Linked DNA regions of Homo sapiens: regions 1, 2, 3, 5 and 6 are each linked to region 4. Evidence: promoter capture Hi-C in human tissues and cell types (Jung and others, 2019). All regions are on one chromosome and are shown on one strand. Each heading gives the region's core, a stretch centred on a gene start or on the middle of the fragment in contact. The rest is flanking DNA. Distances are from core to core; before and after follow the strand shown. Region 1 has its middle 270 kb from the start of LINC01896. Region 2 has its middle 300 kb from the start of LINC01896. Region 3 overlaps ATP9B (ATPase phospholipid transporting 9B (putative)). Region 4 holds the start of SALL3 (spalt like transcription factor 3). Region 5 has its middle 380 kb from the start of LINC01896. Region 6 has its middle 410 kb from the start of LINC01896.

Region 1 (2,925 bases), core at 219-2,718, 270 kb before region 4:
GGGACAGAGATAACAGTGATCAAGACCAGGTCCTCCTTTTGTAGAGTTCACAGTACAGTGGGGACTCAGGCGGAGCACAGCTCAGTACCAGGGAAAGGGGTGTGCCCTGCCCCCAGGCGGTTAGGGAGGGCTTCCTGTAAGAAGTGGGACCCCAAATAGAAAGAGTTTACACAAGCAATTGTGGGGAAGAGAACCTGGATAAATGAAAACCAAATCAAATATGTAAACACAGAGGGCACTCAGTCAACATGCGATCACTAACAAATTTGATTGATTAACTCATGATCAGATGAACTTTCTTTGCAGAGGCCAGAGGAGAGCAGGGTGAGGAGGGAATGTGACCAGTCCAGGGTCTCACCTGCTACTGAAAACAGAAAATGCCAGATTATAATCTTCCATTCCTGGGCAATCAAAAAATGGCACGAAGGATCATAGGACACGAGTACCTCCCCTAAAAAGAAACAGAACAAACTGAGGAGTCCTAATTTCCCCCCATCTTCCCATTCCCAAAGTAAAAGGCAAGAGTCAGCCTAGACAGGATGCCGTCGGGGTGCGGGGTTTGGAGCTGAAGCAGACATTCTTTACAGAGAAAATACATGGTGCTAAAAGCCAGCAAAGTTGGTGTTCTTAGAAGTCTGAAATAAAATATCAGTGACACCGAATCCTAGTGGAAATTATGGAGTCAGTAGCAGGAAGTCAGGTAAGAGAAACAGGCCCAAGAATGTGGCACCAGAATGTGAGAAGGAAAGAAGCACTTGGAAGCTGGGCACAGTGGTTCACGCCTGTGGTCGCAGCAACTCGGGAGGCTAAGGCAGGCGGATCGCCTGAGCCCAGGAGGTCAAGGCTGCAGTGGGTGATGATTGCACCACTGCACTCCAGCCTGGGCAACGGAGCAAGACCCTGTCTCTAAAAAAATTATTTTTAATTAAAACTTATCTGAAAGAAGAAAGGGTTCAAAGCAATTGCCCTAACCCCCATGGGGAGTCTTAGCTGCCTTCAGAGGTGGCCAGCGCACCCTGGGCATCTTAACAAGTCAGGGGCACTGTGACTCCTCAGAGGTACAAGACCCTAAATGCCAAATGCTCTGCTGGACAGAGCTGCTCAACTGTGGCTCAAGAAAGATCCTCTGCCTCAACAATTTGAAGCATCAATCCTTCCAAGTTTACTTCTTTCCATTCTACCTGTCCTATTCTAGTGGGATGGAGCTGAGTTGCATAACTGATAAAATGTTCCATGTTGAGTGCCTCAGATCCTGGAAACTATCATGGTATGGACTGCAATTCATAAATGGAAGCCCTAATCCCCACTCTGATGGAGTTTGGAGATGGGCACATTGGGAGCTGATTAAATCACAAGGCAGGAGCACTTGCGAATGGGATCAGTGCCCTTATGAGAACAGACAGGAGGGTTCTTCCCACTGCCCACCCTTCACCACGTGAGACTCAGCAGGAAGATGGCAGCTGCACCCAGAAGAGGTCCTCCCCGGACTCCGGCCCTGCTGGCACCTGTGCTTGGCCTTCCAGCCTCCAGCTTTCCAGCCTCCAGTACTGTGAGAAAATAGACTTCCACTGTGTGAGCCACAGTCTATGGTATTTTGTTATGGCAACCCAAGCTGACTAACACATATCAATTGACAGAATCCCAGAAAATTAGAAAACTTTAAAACACTCTTTTTAAAAAATTCTCTCAAGGCTCTTGTAGAAACAAAACTTACATATTAAACCAATACTTAACTAAACAAGGATAGTATTTAAATACCCCTAATCTGTTGGAAAATGTTCAGGTTCTGAACCACCTTTACAGATGCAGGTTTTTTGGTCCTTTCTGAATGACACTGTAAGATTTGAGCCTTTTATTAGATCATATGACAAAAGTATGTGACCACTGGCCCCCGGGAATGGGAGAATGAGAAGGAGAGTTGCTTAGACTTCTTGTTCTACATTTCTGTAGGGTGTGTGATTCCCCCTGCAAAGGTGAACATACAGGGTGCCTTGGGTGCCTGCTCTCTGGCAGGGCAATTGAGTTCTGTGCCAGTATTTGTCCAGTAAGCATCCTCATTCACAAATCAATGGAGTGTCCTTGTATGCAAAAGGAACAGAGAAAGAGCTACCATCTCAAAGAACTATATCCACCTAAAGGCCATGGGAAATGTATGGTGGAACAAGTCAGAACCCAAGGCATACAAAACATGATGAGAATAACAATTGATACTAATTGAGCACTTACTGTATACCAGGCACTTGTCAACGTGTGTTCATGAATTATCTCAGTATTGCCACGCACTAATAGAATATTATTATTCTCATTTTACAGACAAAAAAAGCTAAGAAAAAATGTGAAGTCATTTTCCCAAGTTCACAGAAAAGTGGTTGGCAGAACAGGGACTTCTATCTAAAAAATGGACATTTGTACATTAATTGAAACACACAAATACATGTACAGCCACGGTAAGAAAATATAAAAAGAAAAGAAAACCAGAACTTCCCAGCAGCCAATAGCCAGGGGCGGACAGGCCTGAAGACAGATAGTGACTGCTGTAGACATGAGTTTGTGATAGGGTCCGCGACCCCAAGTGTGCTGCTGTCCATGGTCCTGGAGGATTGTCGCCTAACAGGGTGTGGCTGTTTCTCCTCATCCCGGGTAACTGGGGATCCTGTCCTGGCTCTCCAAGGAATGCTGAGCTATATACAAGAAGTTCCATGGTGAGAAAAGTGGGAAGCAGAGAGAGAAAATTCTGGAGTCACAAACACTGTCAGATTCCAAAGGAGAAAGCAAGAATTTGTTTTCAAATAACTCCATGTAATATTTATTTCAGATAATTGGAAAGAATATGGTTTTTCTTTTCAATGTACTCTCAAAAAGCAGTAATTCACCGAACACTATGACACCTATGTTCGTGTGGGTTTTCCGGCTTTTCACTTTAGG
Region 2 (2,758 bases), core at 162-2,661, 300 kb before region 4:
CAGGAGAAGCCAGACCTCCGGTGCCCACACAGCGCTGCCGGCTTCACTTTCAGGGCAGCATCCGATAAATCATGAGATCTTCAGCTCTTACTGTACAATCATAGGCTTCGCATTAGATGACCTTGCCCAACCGCAGGCTAACAGGAGCATTCTCAGCATGTTTAAGGCAGGCTGGGCTGAGCCATGATGCTGGGAATATTCGGTGTATTAAATGCTTTTTCAACTTAATGATTTTTCAACCTACGGTGGGTTCCTCCGAACTTAACCCCATGGTAAGTCAAGGGGACTCTGTACCCAAACTGGGTGGCTTAAAACAACAGAAACGATTTCTCACACGGTTCTGAAACCCACAAGCCCCACATCAAGGTGTCATGGGCCCTGCCCCCTCTGGGGCTCCAGGGGAGAATCCTTCCTGCCTCCTCCATCTTCTGCTGGCCCCAGGTGTTCCTTGACTGTGGCTGCCTCTCCCGCTCCCTGGGTCTCTGTCCTCATCTTCACAGAGCCCTCCCTCTGCCTGCGCCTTCTCCTTTTCTTATGAGAACACTGGTCCTCAGATGCGGGGCCCACCCTAAGTCTAGGATGGTGTTGTCTTGAAATTCTTAACTCATTAAATCTCCCAAAACCTTGTTTTCTAATAAAGTCATATTCTGAAGTTACAGGTGGACCTGAATTTGGAGGGGATACTGTTAAACAGCCACAGGACTTAAGGAAGATTCTGCCCCCCAAGAGAGCTGTGTTCTGAGCTAATTTTCTTTCCCCCCACATCTAACTAGGAAGAGCATCTACCACTTGGCAATTCTCTGCCAGTTTCCAGGAACAGTGCTAAGCCGTTAGGTCTATCATCTCAGTTAATCCTCATGATAACCCCAAAAGGAGTCATCATCGCTCTTCTTTCATAGGGCAGAAAACCGAGGTTTAGAAAAGTTAAGCTACTAGTAAGTGGCAGAACAGGAACTTTAACCAGGCCTTCACCTCTGCAGCGGGCAGCCTCTCTTGGAATAGAAATAAAGGAGACTCCCTGAAGAAGACCTAAGGGCTGAAAAGATGTCACCAGCCGCAAGAGATCCAGCGCCTGCGAGGTCCCTGGGAGGATGTCTGTCCCAGTCTGCAGTGGGCTAGATCCTGGCAATGGCTGAGGAGGGCCGTGGCGCCCCAGCCTGTGAAACTGTACTTCCTGGCCTTGTGTTTGAGATGACGGCTGCCTGATATGGCTAATGAATTTTACAATCGAAAGCTAAAGTGAATTAGCTGTAGCAGATGTTTTTACTCTGGGAACTACCAGACCTTTCTGGCCATTCATTTATCCTTCAAGGGGATAAAACTTTCCCCCTCTATTATGTGTTGTCATTGGAGCATTGCACAACTTTATCAAACTTTTTATTCTGGAAACTGAATTAATTTTCTGCAAGGGGGTTTTTGTGTGGCTCTTTAATCACATTTACTGGGGAACATGTGTACGGAGGGCTGGAGAGCCGATTATGGCTTCCAGAAAGGCCACTTTCAAAAGGAGATTGCCCTCGCTCCCAAGGCCTCCATCTGAAGGTCCCTGGGTTTTGTGAAGAGGAAAAAATTAATTACTATTTTAATAACGAAGCCAGGCCTGCTGAAAATCCTCTTAGAGAGTAGCCGGGTGATGTAATGGCTCGCAGGGGGGATATTGAAAGCGCTGGCCACACAGCCTGCCCTGGCCTCCCTATTCATTCCCTGTAAGATGATACGGGCTGCCGGGTCACACATTAGGGAATTAAAAATATAATAATAACACTTGTTTCTTGGGAAGGGGAAAAGTTGTGATCCTGAGATAACAGGTTGGCAGAAATTCACTCTCAGGCCTCCATCTTTGCCAGACGCTCCAAGCGGCTGGACAGGAAATTGGGGCCCTTCTCCCTCAGCAGGTTGGCTCCACAAAGCCTCCAAATTCTGGCGGCCGCCGACAGATCACCCCCAGGACAGCAATGCATGAGCTCTCAGCAGTGCTGAGACATGGGGGACTCGGGGGTGCAATGGGTGGCTCGTAGGCTCGTGTCTTTCCAGGACCCAGGAGAGGACGGGACTTGCATTCCAATCTTTAATCCTCCACACACATCGTCTTTCTGGCTTCTAAAAGAAAAAATTGAGCTTCAGGTTTTTTCTTTCTTTTCATGTGCTTTTTGTTTTTGTTTTTGTTTTTCGGTTTTTTTGGTTTTTTGTTGTTGGTTTTTTTTTTTTTTTTCTTTGAGATGGAGTCTTGCTCTGTCGCCAGGCTGGAGTGCAGTAGCACAATCTTGGCTCGCTGCAACCTCCACCTCCTAAGTTCAAGCAATTCTCCCACCTCAGCCTCCCAAGTAGCTGGGACTATAGGCACCCGCCACCACACCCAGCTAATTTTTGTATTTTTAGCAGAGACGGGGTTTCACCATGTTGACCAGTATGGTCTCGATCTCTTGACCTTGTGATCCGCCCACCTCGGCCTCCCAAAGTGCTGGGATTACAGGCATGAGTGTTTTGTTTTATTTTTCCTGAAAAGTGAACATTTTGCACCAGAATTCTAACTTGGGGTGTTGTTATTGCTATTGTTAATTCTGCACTGTTTGTCTTCTTCACCAGGCAGTGGCCATGTCAGCAAAGTGAGGGCAGGATCTCAGCCAGCGAGTGCCGTGGAACTCAGATCCATGCGAGCTCCTGCCACACTCTCACCGATACAGATAAAAATGCTAATGCTTGGGAAGCAGGTGCAGAGACAGTAAGGCAGAGTCTGTTCTTCATGCGAGAGAGCCCA
Region 3 (3,209 bases), core at 271-2,770, 280 kb after region 4:
GTTGTGATGGGCCATTCAGCTCAGTACACGCCCCACGCTGCTGTGTGTGAGGGTGCAGGGATGAATGGCGTGTACCCTCGGGGCCCTGCAGCTCAGTCCTCAGCGTCTTCATCTGGACACCCCGCTCCCCTCCCTCCCTCCCTCCCCTTTCCTTGCTTTTTCTCTCCATAGAAGTAAAAATTATCTGAAACTTTAATTCCTCCTCCTCTCCCCACAACCTAGCCCTCAACAAAAGCCAAAAACCATTCCCTAAACATTCAAGTTTGTTTAGAATTTTTTTTAAATATATTTTTCTTTAGGAAAAAAAATACTTTTCTATAATTTATGTTACGTTTTTAGTTACTGAGCATGGCTAATTCATGAACTCTCATCACTAGTTTTATCTAAAGTTTATATAAAGTTGAAATAAAACAAAGTTTTATTTTATATATACAAACCTTATTGCCTCTAATTGTGGAAATAGTGCTGGGGAACAGAGAAGTCATTTGATAGAAAAAGGGCATAGTTTAGAAGTAATTTTGGCTAAAGAGCCCCTTTTTCTGGTTCACTTATTTGAACTCAGAAAATTCAGAGTTCTGAATTTGGGGAAACAATTTGAAACATTTCTATGATGAAGCATGTTTTCCAGATTTTAAGGTCAGTGGAGATGCTGTGACAGGAAACCTGGTTAATACTGCTTTTGTAATACCACAGTCCATCCCCTTTACGTGGTACATATGCCAGGGATTCCATACATGAACCCTGAGGGTCCAGCGTGGCTGCAAAAACCATCTAGCACTTAGCACCCGTATCTTCACCCAGTTTCAGAGTTAAGGTGCCATACACGCTTAAGATGTTTCCTTTTATACTTTTTCTGTATAAATCTCTTATTAGTTATAGCATGAATTATGTGCCAGTTTTTATATTGGCTTAGAAAATATATTTTTGCACAATTCATTTCATTTCTTTTGAAATAATCACTGTCTTGGCTTTAAAAAAATTATAGTTAACAAATTTATTTTAATCTATCAAAAAAGTTATTACTTCTTGTTGCACAAGCTACTTCAGCAGCCTTTGAGCATTGTTTTATTTTGTAATGTGTGGGCTTTACAATTTTTATTTCATTTTTAATAGACATATATATTTATGAGATACAATGTAATGTTTTGGTATATGTATACAATGCTGCTTTTATGGTTAACTTCTTGCTTTTCCTAAAGGTTTGCCACCTAAAAATTGCATATATAAATATATGCAGTCATCTCTTGGTTCCCATGGGGGATTGGTTCCAGCACCCTCCATGGATACCAGAACGCATGTGTACCCAAGTCCCACAGTGGGCCCTGCAAAACCTACCCGTGGGACAAGTGGACCCTCCATGTCTGCGGGGTTCGCCTCCCAGGAATACTGTGTTTTGATGCATGTTTGGTTGCAGGTGCAGAGCCCTCAGATACGGAGGGTTGACTTGACTTACTAAAAAGAGTCCATATCTGAGAGGACTTGCACAGTTCAAACCTGTGTTGTTTGAGGGTCAGCTGTGAATTAGTTTTTCCTGTTTTGCTAGTTTCTATAATTGAAATCATACTGGATGTTTTCTTTTTGTCTTATTCCTTTTGTTTTACATGGCTGTGTACAGGACGTTGTGTTGTCTTCTTCTCATTTCTTGCAGCTTGTCATTCTCTTGCATGAGCACACTCCAGTGTATTCAGTGATCCTTTCTGCTGTTTTGGGGTTTGGGTTGCTTCCAGTTTTTTTACAGTGAGCAGCAGTGCTGCTATTAACATTTCATGATGTGTACTCCACACGTTAGCACCCTGGTATAAGATATCTAAGAGCAGGCCGGGCGCGTTGGCTCACGCCTGTAATCCCAGCACTTTGGGAGGCCGAGGCGGGTGGATCACGAGGTCAGGAGATCGAGACCATCCTGGCTAACACGGTGAAACCCTGTCTCTACTAAAAAATACAAAAAATTAGCCGGGCGTGGTAGCGGGTGCCTGTAGTCCCAGCTGCTCGGGAGGCTGAGGCAGGAGAATGGCGTCAACCCGGAAGGCGGAGGTTGCAGTGAGCCGAGATCGCGCCACTGCACTCCAGCCCAGGCGACAGTGTAAGACTCTGTCTCAAAAAAAAGAAAAGGAAAAAAAAACATATCTAGGAGCAGCACTACTTGGCTGTGTTATTTGTCAAATTTACCAGATAATGTTTAACTGTTTTTCAAAGTGTTTGTACCAATTTACCATTCCAACATCAGTGTGGAGAATAGTTCACATCCTCAGCAACACTTAATATAAGTGGGCTTCTCATTGCAGTTTTAATGATCATTTCCCAGATTGATAATGAGACTAAACAATTATGCACATATATATTAGCTATTTAGATTTTCTCTTTTGTGAACTTTCTAAGTCTTTTGTCTGGTGTTCTGAGCAGCTTGCAGTTATTTATATATTTTAGATGCCAAGGCTTTCTCGGCTTATGTTTTGCTGATATCTTTCTCAATCTGTAGTTTGACTTTTTACTCACCCATTGGTGAAATTATGAAAAAACAGTTATTGATTTTACATGCCAAATATATGAGGTTTTTTTTTTGTTGGTTATCACTTTTTATGTTGTTTAAAAAATCCTTCCCTACTCCAAGGAGATGAAACTCTCCTCTTACATTATCTTCTAGAAGCTTAACTGTTTTTCCTTTGACCACTGTAAGTGTTTTTTGTTTTTTTTTTTGATATATATGGTGTGAAGTACAGTTTTTAAATACCATATTTCTGCAAACCAATTGTCTCAGCACCAGTTATAGAAAAGACTTTTCCCAGTGACCTAGTGCCCCGTCTGCCATGTACCAAGCATTTGTATACACATGGGCCTGTTTTGGTTACCTGTTCTGTTCCCTTGGACTGTTTTTGTATTCTCGCCAAATAACAAACTGTGTTTGTTAACAGACTTTTATAATAGTTCGATGTTTGATAGAACAAGTCTATCCTCATGTGCAGGTTTGTGATATAGGCAGACTTGTGTCATGGGGGTTTGTTGTACAGATTATTTCATCACCCAGGTATTAAGCCTAGTACTCATTAATTATTTTTGCTGATACTCTCCCTCCTCCCACCCTCCAGCCTCCGACAGGCCCCAGTGTGCGTTGTTCTCTTCTGTGTGTTCTCACATTTAGTGTGTTCTCACCATTTAGCTCCCAGTTTTAAGTGAGGACATGTGGTATTTGGTTTTCTGTTTCTGCGATA
Region 4 (3,150 bases), core at 266-2,765:
GGCAAAATAAAACCAACCTTAAGGGTTTTTGTTGTTTTTTTTTTTTTTCAAAAGTGGCGATAGGGACTGTTTGGACCTGACTCCAACCTGCGCCCTCCCTTCCTCTATGACCCTCCTGCGCTTTTCCTGGAACCCAAAGCTCTGACTTCGTCAAACTTACACAATTAAAGGCAGGCGGAAGAACGCGGGCTGGGAAGCAAGCGGGAAGATTCTAGAATGGAAGGGAGCCCGCCGAGCGCCGCGAGCCGCGCCAGGCCGGGTCCGATGGAGCAGGCGGGGATTCCTCCCCCAGGCGGACCCCCGCCACCAGCCCTGCCGGGAGCTCGCGGCCTGCGGAGCGCCCGGGCTGGCCGCTCACCGCCCGCTTCCCCCAGCGAACGACTCGGGGAAGCTCCAGGAGGCCATCTGTGCTGACGGTTCACACCAGACAGGACCACTTGCAAGGACAAAAATAAGAAATTTAGGAAACGAAAAAAGACGTACTGGGGCGAGGGGCGCGGGCGCGGCGACGACGGGGCCGGGGGCACATCCTGGCGGCCGCTCGGGGAGAGAGGACACGCGCGGGAAGGAGCGCGGCGGGTGCACGGCCGCGGGTGGGAGTACGCGCCTGTGCGCGCGGGGCGAGGGCGAGGGCGCGTGCGTGTGACCGCGGGGAGGGGGCGGGCGCGTGTGCGGGGAGCGCGCCGCGCCAGGGGCCGAGTGTGTGGGGCCGATCCAGAAGTGCGCAGCCCCCTCACCTGGCCCCCGTGTCATCCCCGAAATCCCGGGAAAGGGTGGGCCGCGCGCGGGAGTTTGGTGGAGTTGGAACTTTCGGTCGCGCTCGCTGCCCACTCCGCTGGCGCCCGGTGGCCCGTGGTGAAGGGGGACTAGGGTGGGGAACACCGGGGCCCTGCGGTCCCCTCCCTTTCCTGTATTTAAGAAGCCGCCGGCGGCGCAGAGGCCCAGGCGGGCTGGCGCGGGGGCGAGGCGGCCCGGTGGCAGCAGCGGGCGGGGCGGGCGCTCCGGAGTCGGTGGGGCCCGCGGGTTGGGGGGCGGGGAGAGGGGGGAGTGGAAGGGAGGGGGAACGCAGGGGAGGGAGAGGAGGGGAGGAGCCGCGCGGCCCGCGCCGCTTCCGAACCGGAAAGTTGGTCTTGCCGAAGTCCTGCCACCCCGGCGTGCGCACTCCGCTCCGCTCCGGCCGCGAGCCTCCGAGCCCGGCCGGCCGCCGGGGGAAGCCCGCGGAGGGGACGCGGGGCCGGGCGAGAAGGTCCGGAGAGCGGGGGGCACCTGAGCCCGGGCGGGCCCGCCGCGCTGAGCGGCGCTGAGAGCCGCGGCGGAGCAGCGAAGGCGGCCGGCCGACCCCGCGCGCCCGGAACAGGAGGCGCGGCGCCCGAGCGGCCCGGGCGAGACAAAGGCGCCGGGTCGGAGCCCTGCCCGCGGCCGCTCGCTCCGGGAGGGGCCGCCCGGCGGCGGCGGCGGGGGGGGCGCGGGCGGCGGCGCAGACACTCTATAAAGGGGCGAGCCCGGCGCGCCGGCGGAGACGGCGCCGCGCGGACGCCGCCAAAGTTTGCTGCCTGCGCCCTGCGGAGGGACGGCCACCGCGGCCCGCGCCGCACCCGGGCCCCGCCACAGCCGCACCCGGGGCGGCCGAGGAGCGCGGCGCCGGAGCCCGCGATGTGAGGCGGCGCCGGGCAGCGCGCGCCCCGGTCCCGAGGCGCCGCGGCCCCCTCCTCGTCGGCGCGGCCGCTAATTGCGAGCGCGGCCTCATTTGCATAGGCCGCCGGAGTCCGCTGGAGCCCGGCCAATCGGCGCGGCCCTCCGCTAATGGCCATGCATTATTCACCAGCCTAATTGCTCAGCCCCATGCGCGGCCCGCGCAGCCGCCGCCGCCCCGCGCCCCGCGCCGCGCGCCCGCCAGGCCGCCCCGCGCCGTCCCCGCCGGCCGCCCCGCTGATGCCGCTGCCCCGCGCGGGGCCCGAGCGCCGCTAGCAGCATGTCTCGGCGCAAGCAGGCCAAGCCCCAGCACCTCAAGTCGGACGAGGAGCTGCTGCCGCCTGACGGGGCTCCCGAGCACGGTGAGGGCCGGGGCTGCGGGGTGGCCGGGGGGTCTGGGGCTGCCCGTCCGGGCTGGGGAAGCGCGTGCGGCGGGAGCGGATGCGCGCGTCCGGGAGCGGGAGAAAGTTCCCTGCTTCCTGCGGGCAAGCGTCCGCCCCGCGCCAGGCCGGCCGCGGGGCCCCGGGTACTTCGCCGGAGCGCGCGCGGCCGCCGAGAGAGTTGTGGGCGAAGTAAACTTGGCTCCTCTCCTCGGAGTCGGGGAGCTGCCCGCGAAGGGCGCCGAGGCCGCGGCCGGCTCGAGGACGGCTCGGAGGCCGGGGCGGGAGGGAGTCCACGGTGCCTCCGCCGCCGCGCCGCCCCCCAGGGTCTCTGCGCCAGGACGCTGAGGCCGGCGGCGGCGGGGAAGGCGACCGCAGCCCACCTACCGCTGGACGCGGGTTGGGGACCCCGCCGCCCGGCCAGCTTTGTTCGGGGGCCCGCGGCCCCTCCCGGGCCCCCGCACCGCCTCGGGTGACCCGCGGTGTCCCAGCGCGTTGACGCAGCCTGTGATCCCTCGCGAGGCGAGGAGAAGGTCGGGGGCTTGGCTCTGCCTAATGGCCGCCCGGGGAATTAAGCTGGGGGTGAGCGCAGCGGCGGCGGCCTGGGCCTGGCCCCTGCTCGCGGCGTGTTTCCGGGGCGTTCGTTGCAGCGTCTGCGCGGGCCTTTTCTCTCCCGTCTTTTTGGATCCGCCGAGGCCGGGCGCTGGAGACCTCGGCTTTGCAGTCATTTCGCTGGTAGGAGCGTCCTCTTCGAAACATCCAAGAGCAAAGGGCAGGCGCCGCGAAAGTTAAGAGACTGGCAAAGGGCTGGACTTCCCAGAGTGGCGCCTTAGCCCCGCAAAGTTTGGGGCGCCCCCACCCCCTTCGTCGAGTCAAAACCTCGGCCGGCGGCGCCCGGGCTTCGGCGCGCCCCGCGGGGCCCCCAGGGCGCCAGGAAAGAGGGCCGAGGAGGGGCGACCCCACGACCCCGAGCCCGCAGCACAGCTCGCAGTAAAATAATTTGCTCCTTAAAAAAACAGGCAGGCCAACTTTTATGATTGACCTGTTATAAGTTGTTGGAGGCAGATGGTGATCTTTT
Region 5 (2,978 bases), core at 31-2,530, 380 kb before region 4:
CTAAAAGGCAGATGGGGCTGCCTAGGGAATGGCCATTCCAAGACACCAAACTTCGCATGTTGACATCAAGTGAAAGCGTGTATGAGGATGTGATGAGAGGAATTGTTGCTAAAAATAAAGAATTCCAAACTTCTAATGAATGTATCTCATGTATGATACTATCACTTTATCTCTTTTAATTTCACAAGAACCCTAGGAGGCAGATTCTGTTAATATACTCAATTTTCAGGTGAGGAAATTCATGCTCAAAAGAGCAAGTTCTTTTTATAAAGTGTGAACCAGAGCACTTCGGTGCAATACCGCCTTTACTAAAAGATCAGGGGATAAAAATTGAAGTTGGGTGTGGTTATTTAAACATATATTACAAGCATAAGTACAAAATGCACTCCAGGGATAATAAGATGACTCAGCCACCATCCTTGCCTCAAGGGACTGTGGCTCCTAGGCTAACGAGTTCCATCAGATCTAGACATGGGCTGGGCACTTTCTTCACACTTCAGCAACAGAGCTGGAAATGTCTGGACAGCATGTGCTCACGTTGTGGCCTTTAGAACCTGGAAGCACCAGAACTGAAGCTGCTGTTCCCGGTTTGGATTTTTGAAGACACCTGTGCTGAGCACTGAATGCTAATAAACACTTAGATATAAGTTGCTGTCTATGCCAAGTTATGATTGCCAAAGTGTGGTTTTCCCATTAACTGATGCCTCATGGGCTCCTTTCCAATTGACTTCTCAGTGCAACTATCCAAACCCCTTCCCCACCTAGAAGCCTACCCATTTATAAAGATGATAGTTAAGTTGTACCTCTATAAGAATTCCCATAATACTTTCAAAACTTCGATCATTCAATGCCTGCTGACAAATGATGGAACCCAGCATGGCCTGGGTCTCCTGTGGCCAATGCAACTGCAGTGTGGGTGGAGCCCTGCTGGGAGTCTCTAAACCTCACACGCTGTGCTCAGGAGGGCAGATGACACCCCGCCATGGCACAGCTCTGGAGCTGGGCTGGAGCCCCAGTTGTCTCAGCTTTGATAAGGTTTGTCATGGCACCTGTGTGTTCTTTCAGGATTGCAGACCACTGGAGCTGATGGTGAGACTGAATGAGGAAGACACAAAGCCTTCACTTTATTTCTAACAGGGGCAGCGTCTCCTCTAGCCAATCGATTTTGGAGGTTAGAATGGTAAGCGGTGACAAGCATCAGCCTGGAATTCGACAGACTTGGAATCACTTCCTGGTGCCATTTACCAGTTGTCAGGCATCGGTTAAGTGGTTTAACTCCTCTCAACCTCCATTTCCTCACCTATAAAATAGACACCGTAATGTCTGGCACTCATGAGTCATTGTGAGGAGCTGAATTTCAACCCAATAAATATTTTTAATCTTTGAATGGTACTCATTCTTTGATAATATGTGACATAATTAAATCAATTGTTCACTTAATCAGACTGTGTCTTAGTTTTCAAACTTAGGAAAAAGAGATAACATCTTCCTACCTTAGTTGCATTGCAGAATTTGAGACTTCCCACAGGGAGATAAAAAAAGGTCACATATAAGCATCACTGAAAAGCAAGAGTGACATTGAATCATCATTGCAGTACAATTATATTTTTCCCACAAAATGACTTAAAATTGTAGTATTTATTATTATTTTTCTCAAGTGTAAATACAAGGAAATCATGCTAAATGTTACATTTAAGAAAGTGCCATAAAACAACATTAGTAGGAGTCATATGAGATAAGGGAGCAAGAGGAAGAGAGAGAGAGCTGTCACCAGCAGGAGCCATTGTGATTCGAGCTACAGAAATTTCAAAGACACTAAAGAGAAGTGAGTCAGAGCCCCGGCACTTCTAAGATGCTTTTGTGAACTGGAGCTTTCAAATAGTTTATGAGGTAATCACAGCAACCTTAAAAAATCTGGTCTAGGAGGGAGAAGGAAACAACACACCAACACTTGGAAGACAGCGGCTGTTCCATCCGTGCAAAGCAAGCTATTTAGTGATGTTCTTCTCACATTAAATGAGCCAGGAGACCACACACTTAACTATGATTTTAAAATTAATTATGCCTCACCTCATCATAGTACTTAAATTGCATTTAAGTTGTTTATTCATGCGTCGGACTTGTCAGATGAAAAATGCATTTTTGTCCTGAGGCCAACCTGCAGTGCCTGATGGTGAACGTGCCCGGTGTGATCCCAAGGCCCATGGGGAGCCTGAAAAGAGGGTGGCGAGGGGTCTTGCATGCGGTGCGACCCCCACGGTTAGAGCTCCGTCAGTTCTGCAGTGGGTGTCGATTATTTAAACGATTACACTAAAAGTAATTTCACCATCATTATACCAGATTTGCATTTTGTTTAAATAAAAATTTTTTAACTGTAAACTTTAAGATGTTAAGGAATGTAATGATTAAAAAAAACTTCAAACAGAGTAATTCAAAAATAGATCTCAATCTTTAACTGTAAGTCATCACAGCAGGTCAGTCTACAGAAAAATTCCCCAAAACTTAAACAGTGTGGAATTGAATACTTCAGTGTATTCTTCTATATAAGCTTTAAGAAAAGAAATGAGGAAACCCATGGAAAATGATACAAAATGTTAGGTTCAGAGGAAAATGTCCTATTGACCGACAAAATCCCATAAGTATAGAACCTTCTGAGTAGTTCATAATAGAGATGGGGAAATCTCTTTCTTCGCCTCTCCCCAAATTCAGGAGAAGATAAATATAGATACAGGTACATTTGCTGATTAAGAAAGATTCTTACAATGTTGAAGTCTGATGATAGCTCACCATCTTTCCCCAGTGGCAGGTTGGAAGGTGGTACCATCTTTCCCCAGTGGCAGGGTGGAAGATGGCACTATCTTTCTGTGGTGGCGGGGTGGAAGGTTTTACCATCTTTCCCCAGTGGCAGGGTGGAAGGTGGCACCATCTCTCCCAAGTGGTGGGGTGGAAGGTGGTAGCTGATGTCTAAAGTTTGTATC
Region 6 (3,072 bases), core at 199-2,698, 410 kb before region 4:
TGAACATTTAGTGCTCTCACCTAGACAGACCACCTAGCACAGAACCTGGAACCCCACGGTGTTAGCCGGCATTCATCCATAAAATGATTTCCAGCTAGATTTTCAGCCATGGCCTCTAGGGAACCGGAAATGTATTGATGATGAGAGTTGACGGGTGGATTCCCATTGTGTCTGTTTCAACTCCAAAGATGTAGCGGCAGATCCACAAGCAGATCAAGGGACCTCAGTCACAGGCCACTCCCTGGAGGCCACTGCCAGTGTCCCATCAGCAAGGACTCATTCTTTTGCGGGCTTCAGAGCTCAAATTCCTGCAAACATACAAATGTTTCTTAAATGTGTGTTGTGCAAATTGTCAGATTTGAAGTCAGAAACAACCGTGTTTAAATCCAAATTCCTGCCATTTCTAATTGGGTGGCCCTGCACACATTGCCTAGTCTTGACACCCCCCATTCTTCCCACTGTGAATCACATGGAGTGACTGACCTCATGGAGCAACAGCATCAGGAAGTGGCGCCTGTGAGTGTGGACCCGTAAGAGGTGGCGGAACCCATGAGTAGTGAAGGGGCCCGTGGGTGGTGGCAGAGCCCGTGAGTGGCGGCAGGACCCGTGGGTGGTGGCAGGGCCCGTGAGTGGTGGCAGGGCCCGTAAGTGGTGGCAGGACCCGTGGGTGGTGGTGAGGCCCATGTGAGTGGTGGCAGGACCCATGGGTGGTGGCAGGGCCCGTGAGTGGTGGTGGGGCCCATGAGTGGTTGCAGGACCCATGGGTGGTGGCGGGGCCCGTGAGTGGTGGCGGGGCCCGTGAGTGGTGGCAGGACCCATGGGTGGTGGTGGGGCCCCTGAGTGGTGGCGGAGCCTCTGTAGAGGGTCCCCCTCCCCCCACACCCCTGCCTACCTGTGCTGGGTAGGAGATGAGAAGGGACATTGGCCAGCAGTGTGTCTGCACGATGGGAAGCCTGGCTGACTTACCAAGTTGTAAAGCAAGTATCGGGGAACAGCAGTCTCCAGAGATGTCCTTGTCCCAGTCCTGGGAAGCTGTGAATGGTTACAGGTGAGGAGGACGGCAGTCTCCAGAGATGTCCCTGTCCCAGTCCTGGGAAGCTGTGAATGGTTACAGGTGAGGGGGACGGCAGTCTCCGGAGATGTCCCTGTCCCAGTCCTGGGAAGCTGTGAATGGTTACAGGTGAGGGGGACGGCAGTCTCCGGAGATGTCCCTGTCCCAGTCCTGGGAAGCTGTGAATGGTTACAGGTGAGGGGGACGGCAGTCTCCGGAGATGTCCCTGTCCCAGTCCTGGGAAGCTGTGAATGGTTACAGGTGAGCAGGAGTGAGCTTGCCCATCAACTAAGTTTAACTAAAGAGGTTTCCCAGGATGGACCAGGTGCTCTGACATAATGGCAGAGGTTCTGCAATGTCGGGGAGAAAGGCCAGAGAGCTGGTGGCAGGAAGTTGCTGTGTGAGAGGCCAGCCAGTGCTGCTGACTTTGGAGGTGGAAGAGGGACCAGGAGCCAAGGGGTGTGGGCAGCCACCAAAGCTGGGAAACTCAGGGATGGTTTCTGCCCTAGGGCACCCAGAAGGAACTCACCCTGCAGACACCCCACTTTTAGCCAATGAGACCCCTATTGAACATTAACCCCAGAACTGTGAAGAATAAATGTGTGTGGTTTTAAGCCACTAAGCTGCAGTGATTTGTTGTAGCATTGCTAGAAAGCCACACCAGCAAGGAGTTGGCATGGGGCATGGTGCAGGCAGCCCTGTTACTCTGGCTGAGCCTACATATGCACATCCTGTGAGAATCACATGAAAGCAAAGGGTGTGGGGCATGGAGGCTTCAGACCTGCGTCCCTGCACAAATCTCATGTCAAATTGTAATCTTCAGTGTTGGAAGTGGGATATGTTGGGAGATGATTGGAGCATGGGAGCGGATTTCCCCCTTGCTGTTCTCATGACAGTGAGTGAGTTCTCACAAGATCCATGGCTAAAGTGCGTGGCACTCCCCACCCCCCTTCATCCTGCTCAGGCCATGTAAGATGTCTGCCTCCCCTTCACCTTCCACCATAATTGAAAGTTTCCTGAGACCTCCCCAAGCAGATGTAGCACCATGCTTTCCATACAGCCTGGAGAACTGTGAGCCAATTAAGCTTATTTTCTTTAAAAATTACCCAGTTTCAGGTATTTTTTGTGGCAGTGAGAGAATGGATTAATACAGAACATAGGTGCCAAAGAGTGGAGCATTGCTATAAAGATACCTGAAAATGTGGAACCAGCTTTGGAACTGGGTAACTGGCAGAGTCTGGAAGAGTGTGAAAGGCTCGGAAGAAAACAGGGAGATGAAAGTTTGGAACTCCCTAGAGACTTGTTGAATGGTTGGACCAAAATGCTGAGAGTGATATGGACAATGAAGTTCAGGCTGAGGAGGTCTCAGATGGACATGAGGAACTTATTGGGAAGTGGAACAAAGGTCACTTTTGTTTCTTAGCAAAGCAATTAGCTGCTTTGTGACCTTGCCCTAGGAATCTGTGAACTTTGAACTTGAGAGTGTTGATTTAGGGTATCTGGCTGAAGAAATTCCTAATCAGCAAAGCTTTCAACATGTGGCCTGGATGCTTCTAATAGCCTATGTTCATATGCATGAGCAAAAATAACCTAAAACAGGAACTTATGTTTCACAGGGGAGCAGAGCCTACAAGTTTGGAAAATTTGCAGCCCAGAAATGTGTTGGAAGAGAAAAATCAATTTTCTAGGGAGGAATTCAAGCAGGCTGAAGAAATTTGCATATGTAAAGAGAAGCCAAATGTTAATTGCCAAGACAATGGGAAAAAATGCCTTGAAGCCATTCCAGAGATCTCCAGAGTACCCTACCCATCACAGTCCCAGAGGCATAGGAGAGAAAAGTGGTTTCCTGAGCCAGGACCAGGGCCCTGCTGCCCTGCACAGCCTCGGGACACTACTTCCTGTATCTCAGTCACTCCAGCTCTACCTGTGGCTAAAAGCAGACCAGGTTTAGCTCAGACCACTGCTTAAGAGGGTGCAAGTTGTAAGCCTTGGCAGCGTCCACATGATATTAAGCCTGCCAT

What was found. Contacts are between HindIII fragments. The study calls those that stand out against the background at their distance.
Region 1: a contact is called between a fragment that was not itself captured here and the fragment with the promoter of SALL3 in region 4, in 4 of the 25 tissues and cell types used here (H1 embryonic stem cells, mesendoderm cells, neural progenitor cells and 1 more).
Region 2: a contact is called between a fragment that was not itself captured here and the fragment with the promoter of SALL3 in region 4, in 2 of the 25 tissues and cell types used here (H1 embryonic stem cells and neural progenitor cells).
Region 3: a fragment that was not itself captured here is called in contact with the fragment with the promoter of SALL3 in region 4 in 1 of the 25 tissues and cell types used here (H1 embryonic stem cells).
Region 5: a contact is called between a fragment that was not itself captured here and the fragment with the promoter of SALL3 in region 4, in 2 of the 25 tissues and cell types used here (H1 embryonic stem cells and neural progenitor cells).
Region 6: a contact is called between a fragment that was not itself captured here and the fragment with the promoter of SALL3 in region 4, in 3 of the 25 tissues and cell types used here (H1 embryonic stem cells, IMR-90 fibroblasts and mesendoderm cells).

The regions. Positions count from the first base shown.
Region 1 is chr18:78,710,701-78,713,625 of GRCh38, forward strand. No RefSeq gene overlaps it. Among named protein-coding and RNA genes, the nearest start is that of LINC01896, 270 kb to the right of the region's middle. The HindIII fragment of the contact is 5,899 bases long and covers 1-2,925 here.
Region 2 is chr18:78,678,130-78,680,887 of GRCh38, forward strand. No RefSeq gene overlaps it. Among named protein-coding and RNA genes, the nearest start is that of LINC01896, 300 kb to the right of the region's middle. The HindIII fragment of the contact is 5,655 bases long and covers 1-2,758 here.
Region 3 is chr18:79,261,987-79,265,195 of GRCh38, forward strand. All of the region lies in intron 12 of ATP9B (ATPase phospholipid transporting 9B (putative)), which reads left to right. Among named protein-coding and RNA genes, the nearest start is that of NFATC1, 130 kb to the right of the region's middle. The HindIII fragment of the contact is 5,737 bases long and covers 1-3,209 here.
Region 4 is chr18:78,978,303-78,981,452 of GRCh38, forward strand. SALL3 (spalt like transcription factor 3) reads left to right here and starts at 1,516. Exons shown (of 3, transcript NM_171999.4): 1 at 1,516-2,054. The coding sequence starts at 1,973. It overlaps LINC01896 (long intergenic non-protein coding RNA 1896), which reads right to left and starts at 1,389. Exons shown (of 5, transcript NR_187297.1): 1 at 738-1,389; 2 at 161-436. RefSeq lists an enhancer at 2,933-3,150. The HindIII fragment of the contact is 21,440 bases long and covers 1-3,150 here.
Region 5 is chr18:78,595,160-78,598,137 of GRCh38, forward strand. No RefSeq gene overlaps it. Among named protein-coding and RNA genes, the nearest start is that of LINC01896, 380 kb to the right of the region's middle. The HindIII fragment of the contact is 4,580 bases long and covers 1-2,978 here.
Region 6 is chr18:78,571,364-78,574,435 of GRCh38, forward strand. No RefSeq gene overlaps it. Among named protein-coding and RNA genes, the nearest start is that of LINC01896, 410 kb to the right of the region's middle. RefSeq lists an enhancer at 2,538-3,039. The HindIII fragment of the contact is 3,961 bases long and covers 1-3,072 here.